Regions from separate parts of the Homo sapiens genome. Here all the other regions are linked to region 2. The links are contacts of gene promoters, found by promoter capture Hi-C in blood cells and fetal thymus (Javierre and others, 2016). All regions are on one chromosome and are shown on one strand. Each heading gives the region's core, a stretch centred on a gene start or on the middle of the fragment in contact. The rest is flanking DNA. Distances are from core to core; before and after follow the strand shown.

Region 1 (2,890 bases), core at 20-2,519, 2.1 Mb before region 2:
TGTATTTAATGAGGCAGATAGTGAATTTTGCATCAGTCTTCGCACTTTCCCACATTCCACATGCTATCCCATTTTCTTCCAGTTCAGGCTGAGAACACACTGACACACAAAGGGTCAGAGAACTATTCCCAGAGTTCATTCCTCCTCATAAAATAGATTGTGGTTTTTTTCTCCCTTCTGCAGAAAATGTTCTTTCCTTCTACCATATCCAATCCATGTTGGCCATTTAGTAAAATGAACAACTTAAGAGAGAAGTTATTTTTGTTTGTTAAAGGTGTTTTCCTGAGTTTTACAACGAAAGATAAAATGTTGAATATAAAAATAGAAAAGACCCCGGTGGGTCTTTCTAGTGTCCAGCCCCAGGGCCTTCCCCAGGCCCCAGCTAGCTCCTTGTCACTTCTTTATTCCTGACTTCAGTCCCCAGGGGTCAGTTTCCCTTTCCCTGAGGTGGCTGTGCCACCAACCAGTTAATCCTGGACATTCTTTCTTCCAGGAATGGCTATGGAAAGGGACAGAATGTCTCAAACTCCCCTGTCACCATCCCCATCTTTGCTGTCCTAAAAACGAAAGAAGCTAAGCTTCCTTTTCTGGTTTAACCAGTCAGTGCTTAGTCATGTAAGAAATGCAGAGGAGACAACAAAAACATGGATACTATTATACAAAGGTTCCACAATCTTTCAGAGTCCTTTCAGTCATGGTCCCTGGTCTGTATTTGATTTTCATTTTCTTATGAGGGTAGGAGGTAATGGAATCTCCTTCTCCATGATGTCTCCTCTCAGGTTTGTTGACTCCACAGTAAATATTTAACATTTAGAGAGATCAGGGATTACAGAGACCACTCTGTAGAAGAAAAATATTACCAAAGTGAAGTTGAGGCCAGGTGCAGTGACTCACGCCTGTAATCCCACTTGGGGAGGACAAGATGGGCAGATCACTTGAGGTCAGGAGTTTGAGACCAACCTGGCCAACATGGTGAAACCCCGTCTCTACTAAAAATATGACAATTAGCTGGGTGTGGTGGCACGCACCTGTAATCCCCAGCTACTGGGGAGGGTGAGGCACGAGAATTGCTTGAACCCAGGAGGCAGAGGGGCAGTGAGCCAAGATCAGGCCACTGCACTCCAGCCTGGGGTATAGAGCAAGACTCTTGTCTCCAAAAAAAAAAAAAAAAAAAGTAAAGTTGAGAGGCCTTAAAAGAGGAATAATCTCAGGTCCCTTCACCTGATCTCTCTAGAAACTAATGGAAGATCAGTGTGGGCTTCTGGAACTTGCCAGTTTAAACTCTGGGAATACCTCCTCACTAAAGCCAGGCTGAGTTAGCCCTCTGAGCTCCCATGTTCCTGTGCCAGATTGCACTGCTATTACTACTGCTTTACCATTCGTTCCCCATTGTAGACTGTGTTTTTTTGCAAGGAAGAGACTGTGATCTTTCTTTACTTCTGATCACTGGGGGCTATTAGAGTCCCTGTCACATAGTAGGTACTTAGTACATGATTTTCAGAAAAATGAAATGGTTCTCAGAAGAAGAAAGGCAGGAAGAGTTCCCTATAGGGAAATATAAATACTCCTCCAAGGAATGAACAAGACTTCAAAACTGAGTTTGAGTCTCAGCAATGCTGCTCAGAGAAAAACTGCCTTGCCACAAGATGATAATTTGATAAATAAGGAGGGTTTAAGGCATTTTTGAATCCTGCATTGTTCCTTGTTCCTCTACCCCAAATGACTCAATATGAATAGGTGACAAAAAGTAGGTGACATTGGAATCAGATATATCAAACAGGAATGTGGACCCTGTGAAAAACTCCTATTGTGTTTGAGCAAGTTACCAACCCTCTCTGGGCTGGCTTAAATCTGTAACATGAAGGAACTAGGTCCGATGATATATAAAGTTCCTTACAGCTTTAACCTCTTATGATTTTAAGTGATTCAGAGCCATGTACTGAAATGTATTTTAAGCTTCCTCTTCAAACTCATCAAACAAAAAAAAAAAAAAAAAAAAAGAAAGAAAGAAAGAAAAAGAAAAAAAGAATTATACCATAGTCAACAACACACTTGGGGAGGAAAAATAAACTATAAATTATGGTCATCAGATCAAATGAGCTGAAACACAAGATTAAAATGTTTTCTATCCACAGAGCAATTTTTCACAATGGTGTCAAACAAAAAGTTCTAGTCAATGTTTACACTAGGACTTGATGAAAAATTCCAGACATAAAACTTCTGGAACGTAGACTTGAACTCAGAAGGACCTCCTATCTCTGAATAAATTGTACAACTAAAATCTATTGGGATTTTTTTCCTTAACAAAAATTCATCCTTCAACAATTATTTGAGTTTTATTACTGAGACTATTAAGGCATAGTAAAACTCTGGTTATCTGGAACAGTCATTCTAGGTATGACAGCTAAAGATTTTTTAAAGTACCACTATTTTTGGATGAAAATCATTGAAAGACATTACATTTATTTGACTTCTTTAACAGAATACACTGAATGTAATTTAATCTTTTCCTCAGTGTGAATACCAGGTACTGGTATTGTCCTCAGTAACATCCTCAAGTCCCAGTGAAATACTCTATAATACTCTAGGCTTTTTTTCTTTTGACAGTGTTTCAGAATCCACTCCCACTATCAGCTGTCACTTTTAACTGCTGTCAATTCTGTCAACTTGGCCACTTGTGGTCATCTCCTGCTGATATCTAATTTCTAGATTAAAGGCAGGGAAAACTGTCTTAATTCATCCTTGCATACCCAGGGGTAGCATAGTTCTAGCTACTTAAGGTGAGTCATTAAAAAAAAGTTTATTGTAATAGTGCATGACTTAATTGTAGGTTTAAAATTAAGCAACAAAAAAAGCTTGCTGAAACTAGGTGTGAAATAACAATAAATGA
Region 2 (2,803 bases), core at 27-2,526:
GATGCGGCGCGCCCCCGACTGGGTGCAGCGGGAGGCCGCCCCCCGCAACAAGTGCCGGGTGCCATGGCAACAGCGGGAATTTCCCGATAGGGGAGGCCGGAAGCAGCCTCAGCCGGGCTCGCGGTAGCGAAAGCAAAATCCCGGGGGAGCAAAATGGACGAAAGGCGACCCCCAGGCAGGGGCGCTGGGTGCCTTGGGAATCCGAGGAATCCCTTCTCTTTGCCAGTCGGAGGGGACTAGAGGGAGCCGAAGGGGCCGGAGATGGGCCGAGCGCTGCCCCCCGGGGGTCCTCGGCGCCGGGCGCAGCTTACAAGCGCAGCGCAGCGCAGCAGGCTCCATTCCCGGCCGCCGCCGCTCAGCCCATTGCGCAAACCAACCCCGCTCTGCCGCCGCTGCTGGAACCCAGGAAGCGTGCTTGGAGGCTTCGGGCACTACGCGGGGCTGGAAATACCACGCACTGCCCCTTCGCCTAGACCCCCGCTCCGGCCACGCGGGCTCTGCCCTCAAAGCTGGTGGCTGCCTCAGACTTGGCGGTGGGGGAGGGGAAGGGGAGAGGCTGGCGCCCCCTCCCCCTTTTGGCTCCCGCGCTCGTTGCAGCAGCTGTTGCCAAATGAACCCCAGAATGGGGACGTGCAACCCTCCACCCCACCCCCAGCCACAGACGTCGCGGTCAGAAAACTGGGAAGGGGGCGCTGGGTCCGAGGTTCTGGAAAAGCAAGAACTCACCTGCAAACAGGCAGTCCTTCTCAGCTCTGGACTTCTGGATCACGACGTCGATATCCTTCTGAATTCGCTCTTGCCTTGAACACATCCCCATTAAATAAATCCCTGGAAAAGAAGCAGCCGCTATTTCCACCCCACCCCACCCCCCTCGCACGCTTCCAGCTTTCGTAAATATTCAGTTAAAAATGAAACCTCTGGCCGAGGCAGGGGCTGAAGGCGAAGTGGTTTCGGAAGTGATCCTGGGTGAGAGAAGAGGAGGAGGAGGAGGGGGAGGAGGAGGAGGAGGGGGAGGTCGGCTTTGCATTCCCAGATGTGACCGCCCAGCTGCTGCTCGCCGCTGCTGGATTCCAATTTCCTCCCCTTCTGACAATGGATGGTGATGACACCAAGTCTCACTTTCTCCCTCACCCGCCCGGACCAACGGCCGTGGGGGCCGAGGTGCCGGGGACAGCCAGAGAGCAATCACCGGCTGGGCGGCGGGCGCCGGCGAGGGGCGAGCCCCGCTCCGGCTCACGCGCGCACACCCCTCACGGCTCGCACGCCGGCCTTCCACACCCGCGCACACTCGCGCCCGCGGGCGGCGGCAGCCGTGCCCAGGCTGCTGCAGCGCCGCCCGCCCGCCGCAGACCCTCCGCGCCCGCCGCCTAGTCACCCCGCCGGCCGCGGGCTGCCGGGGCTCGCAGAGTATTAGCCATCCCGGGCGGGAGCCGCTTCTCCCCACACCGACCTCCACTCGCGCCGGGAGCTGAGCGGTCGTGAAGACTCCCTGGGGCTCCCAGCCTTCCCTCTCCGCGCCCCTCCCCCCATCACTTTTATGAATTCGACTCCACTTTCTAAAGGAATTATAGTCTTGTGGCAAACCCAAACCGGAGTGGCTGGGAGGGGGAAAAGGGGGGAAAAGAAAATCTTTAAAAATTAAAAAAATAATAAAACGAACAAATCTTTCCTTATTGCCACATCACATAACACGGAAAAGGCCTTAAAATTACTCCAGACGTGCACCCTCCCCTTCCCTCAGTGCCTGAGTCTTTTTCCTCCAGATCGAAGTAGTTCAGCCCTTTTGGGGCGCCGTTTACGAAACACAGCCCCTTTTGAGGGACTTCCTCCTCTTGAAACTCACCAGTTCTCCCTTCCTAGGTGTTTCTGTTCATGAGAAATGGTCAGAATCAACTGGCACGTTCCAGGGTCTTCCTAAAAGATGGAAACCTGTTTGGCTTGATTTTTAAAACCACCTCCTTTGACAGTCAAGGGAAAGCTACAATCCAGGTGTTCAGAAATGAGATACTGCTCTGATTCTCACTTTCTGTTCTGCCTAAGGACACCCCAGGCTGACGTAGCTGCCCCACCTCTATATTGGTTTATGCCCTAGGAGAGGTCTCCAGCAGGCACTTTTCTTGTTGATCTTTTCTCCACTGAGAAGGCTCCCGCCAGTAGACCATGACTCCTTTTGCTTTGCATACTCAGTGCCATGTACAGTGCCTGGAATACAGGAGGGTGGCCTAAATGTTGGCTGAATGCACGAATGGTCATTTCTTGCAGCCTCTTTTCATTACCCTGTCTCATCACTTTTCTTATCAGCATAAGTGCCCAAGAGTTGCCAAACTGTTTCAGACCCTTAATCAATTTAGTTCTGATTCTGACCGTGACAACATGATGTTCAGCACGGTAGGAATGACTGCCATCCCTGAAGGAGTCTTAAGATTCTGTAGAATCAATGAAAGATCCTATGTTCTAACTCCTTTATCTTTCAGGAAACAAATTACAAAATAATTTCCTTGTCCAGTCATATTCACTATGAGTTACAAAAGGAAACATTCTGCATTATTGAGATCCACTGCAGCCTTTGATGTAGTAAAGCCACAGTCACAACAGTCTATATCTCCTGCTCAGTCCTCTCCTGAAATGCTTCCTGTTTAGGGTAGGACAGGTTCAAGCCCTTTGTCCTTCCTGGATATGTTGCTTTGTGTAGGCCCTTTGGCTGCCAAAAATGCTCTCTTCTCTTCCACATCACCACTGAGAATCATGAGTATTTCTTCTTCCATTATGTGCTTTAATTTCTCTGAAAGGCTGAAAGTCTATT
Region 3 (2,700 bases), core at 201-2,700, 2.4 Mb before region 2:
GTCATTCCCTTGTTTTTATGCCTGGGTGTGAATATAGTCTTTATCCTTTATGTTTAGCAACTTTACCAGGATACACATTGGTATTCATTGCTCCTTGTCAATTTTTCCTACCAAGGACTCTCCAGCCTCACTTCTCATCACCTCCTTTGCTGGAGGCACACCTGCCTTGCCAACTACTTGCCCTTCTGTGAACTTATTATGCTTCTTCATATCCCTGTGGCTTGTCAGAGGCAAGTGAAATTTCTTCGTGCTCTACTCCCACTCTTGTCATTTACTGCCACCATTCTAGCAGATTTACCTTCTCAGCATCTTCTCACTCCCCAGGTGACACAACCACTTTCCCCTTCCACCCTTGAAATGTAACACAGATCCTTAGTATTACAGGGAATTATCATTCATATTTAAAACTCTCCTACCCAGGACTGTGAGCTCCAAGGAAAGGGACGTGTAACTTACATCCACTTAACGACGCAAGCAATTTAAAGCCAAGAGTTCTTGTTGGCAAGAATTGGGAAAGTTGGACGGACAGTATACAATTACCGAGCAGCCAATAAACAGGAAAAGTCATACAGTTCGAATGTTCTGACCAGGCGGATATTCTGTCTTTAAGAAACACTAATCATATACCTGGGAAAGAAAAAAATCTTGGGCCCCTTCAAACTGGGAATTACTCAGGGCAAATCTGCCTCCTATTCTATCCAAGTCACCTCTTTTGCTGACAAAGAATAGATGCATATTCTGATTGCCTCCTTTAGAAAGACTTATCAGAAACTCAAAAGAATGCTACTGTCTATTACCTACCTGGAAGCCCCCAGTTGGGGGGGGCGGGGCTTGCTTTTAACGGTCTCCGCCTTTCTGGAAGGAACTAATGTACTTTTTACATATTGATTGATGTCTCCTGTCTCCCCAAAATGTATAAAACCAAGCTGTGCCCTGACCACCTTGGGCACATGTCCTCAGGACTTCCTGAGGCTGTGTCACGGGCATGTCCTCAACGTTGGCAAAATAAACTTTCTAAGTTAACTGAGACCTGTCTCAAATTTTCGAGGTTCACATACCGTAGGTAAAAGTGTCAGAAGCCTAAAGGTGAGCCAGTGGAAAAGCCTGAAGACCCCTGCAAGGTTATTAGCTAAGCCTCCATAACGCAGGCGGCAAGTGTCCAGGAGTCTGGCGTCTGCTCGCCTGCACCACGACCTCCCTCCTGGGGAGAAGGACATGCATGGTAAGCCATTTCTCCATTTCCATACTGATTGCTTCCTCTCACCACCACGGCCCATCTGCGAAGCAAAACTAATCCTGGCGTGGAACAGGCCGCCTGAGGGAAACAGCTAGAGCCCGGCGCGGGGCGGAGCTGGTTGTGCGCATGCTCCGTGCAGGCGCAGGCGGGGGCTGAGCGCCGTCGGGTTACGCCTGCGCTCCGGGTGAGCCCGCGCCTGCGCCTTTGCGGCCGTGATTCGGTCCCGCTGTCCTAGGCGGGATGGTGCCGCTGTGCCAGGTAAGGGTGGCGGGTGTGCGTGCGGGCCTGGGTGCGGAGCCCTCCTCGACGTGTCTCTCCCGCCCTTTCCCTCCACATACCCAGCCTTGGTCAGTCGGACCTCCCCACTAGCCCCCAACCTGGCCGGCGTCTTGGGTTCGGGGGCGCCCCCGCCCCCGCCCCCGGGCCCTTCCTGTCTCCGGGCTTTACTGCGACTGCCCCAGCAGAAGTCGGGTCCTCTCCGAGAACTCTTGTCAGCTCACGGCAGCAAGGACGGACTCGTTCTGAAGGCGCCTCCACCTTTTATGACCACCTCTTTCCCAGATTATTCGTTTTGATGAAGCTAAAATTTTAATCTAAAAAGAAATGCACCTCATGGAGAATTCTTGTGAAGAACTGTGCTTCATCTGTGGATTTCTACACCCTTGATCATTTGCAAACCTGTAATTATTTCGTAAAGAGTTGTTTGCACGGAGTGACAGGTGCCTATTTTACTTCGTCGGATCCCTTACATACCAGGCTGCTGGCACAAGTTTGTTCTAGCAAATTCCAGTCTGTCGTGTGTTTCAAACCTACTTGCTTCTGTAAATGTCAGATTTACTATGTTGCATAACTTAATCCTTAGCGTCTGGGGACGATGTTATACAGACCGGAATCTAAGGTCATTTGACAACCGTGAGAAACAGGTTTTTCGCTTATTTATTCATTTATTTTATTTGTGTAACTCATCTCTTGACTCAAACATTTGTTCTTTGCTTACATATTTATAAAAGGTGCTATACTTTTATGTCAATTAAGGCAGGCTTAACATGTTTTCCTAGAAGATAAATACTTAGGATTTTAATGATGGCACACTTAAGTTTGTAAAACTAAAAGGCATCCAGAAATTAGTCTGAATTGTATTTAAAACAACAAGTTTTCAGAATTTGAACTTGTAGGTATACTGAAATTTTTTACGGGTTATTTAATTTTCTTTATAAAATTTGTCTTTGATTAAAGCAATACATTTGGAAAATGAGAAAACTGCTCAACATTGACAGTCAGAAAACGAGTATGAGTTGTTATTAAAAGCATTTTCTTTACTTTCAGGTTGAAGTATTGTATTTTGCAAAAAGTGCTGAAATAACAGGAGTTCGTTCAGAGACCATTTCTGTGCCTCAAGAAATAAAAGCGTTGCAGCTGTGGAAGGAGATAGAAACTCGACATCCTGGGTAGTTAAAAATTTG

Evidence for each region. The method cuts DNA at HindIII sites, captures the fragments that hold promoters and counts their contacts. A CHiCAGO score of 5 or more calls a contact.
Region 1: a contact is called between a fragment that was not itself captured here and the fragment with the promoter of PARP8 in region 2, in 2 of 17 cell types (monocytes and M0 macrophages). The highest score is 6.0, in monocytes.
Region 3: a contact is called between the fragment with the promoter of MOCS2 here and the fragment with the promoter of PARP8 in region 2, in 1 of 17 cell types (activated CD4 T cells). The highest score is 5.3, in activated CD4 T cells.

The regions. Positions count from the first base shown.
Region 1 is chr5:52,807,787-52,810,676 of GRCh38, reverse strand. All of the region lies in intron 1 of ITGA1 (integrin subunit alpha 1), which reads right to left. Among named protein-coding and RNA genes, the nearest start is that of PELO-AS1, 8.4 kb to the right of the region's middle. The HindIII fragment of the contact is 1,378 bases long and covers 581-1,958 here.
Region 2 is chr5:50,665,110-50,667,912 of GRCh38, reverse strand. PARP8 (poly(ADP-ribose) polymerase family member 8) reads right to left here and starts at 1,276. Exons shown (of 26, transcript NM_024615.4): 1 at 727-1,276. The coding sequence starts at 817. RefSeq lists silencers at 152-481, 1,174-1,233, 1,284-1,433 and enhancers at 1-653, 89-1,001. The HindIII fragment of the contact is 4,109 bases long and covers 1-2,803 here.
Region 3 is chr5:53,108,507-53,111,206 of GRCh38, reverse strand. It overlaps MOCS2 (molybdenum cofactor synthesis 2), which reads left to right and starts at 1,450. Exons shown (of 7, transcript NM_004531.5): 1 at 1,450-1,956; 2 at 2,564-2,685. It overlaps MOCS2-DT (MOCS2 divergent transcript), which reads right to left and starts at 1,365. Exons shown (of 2, transcript NR_104654.1): 1 at 1,059-1,365. RefSeq lists a silencer at 1,422-1,711. The HindIII fragment of the contact is 4,897 bases long and covers 1-2,700 here.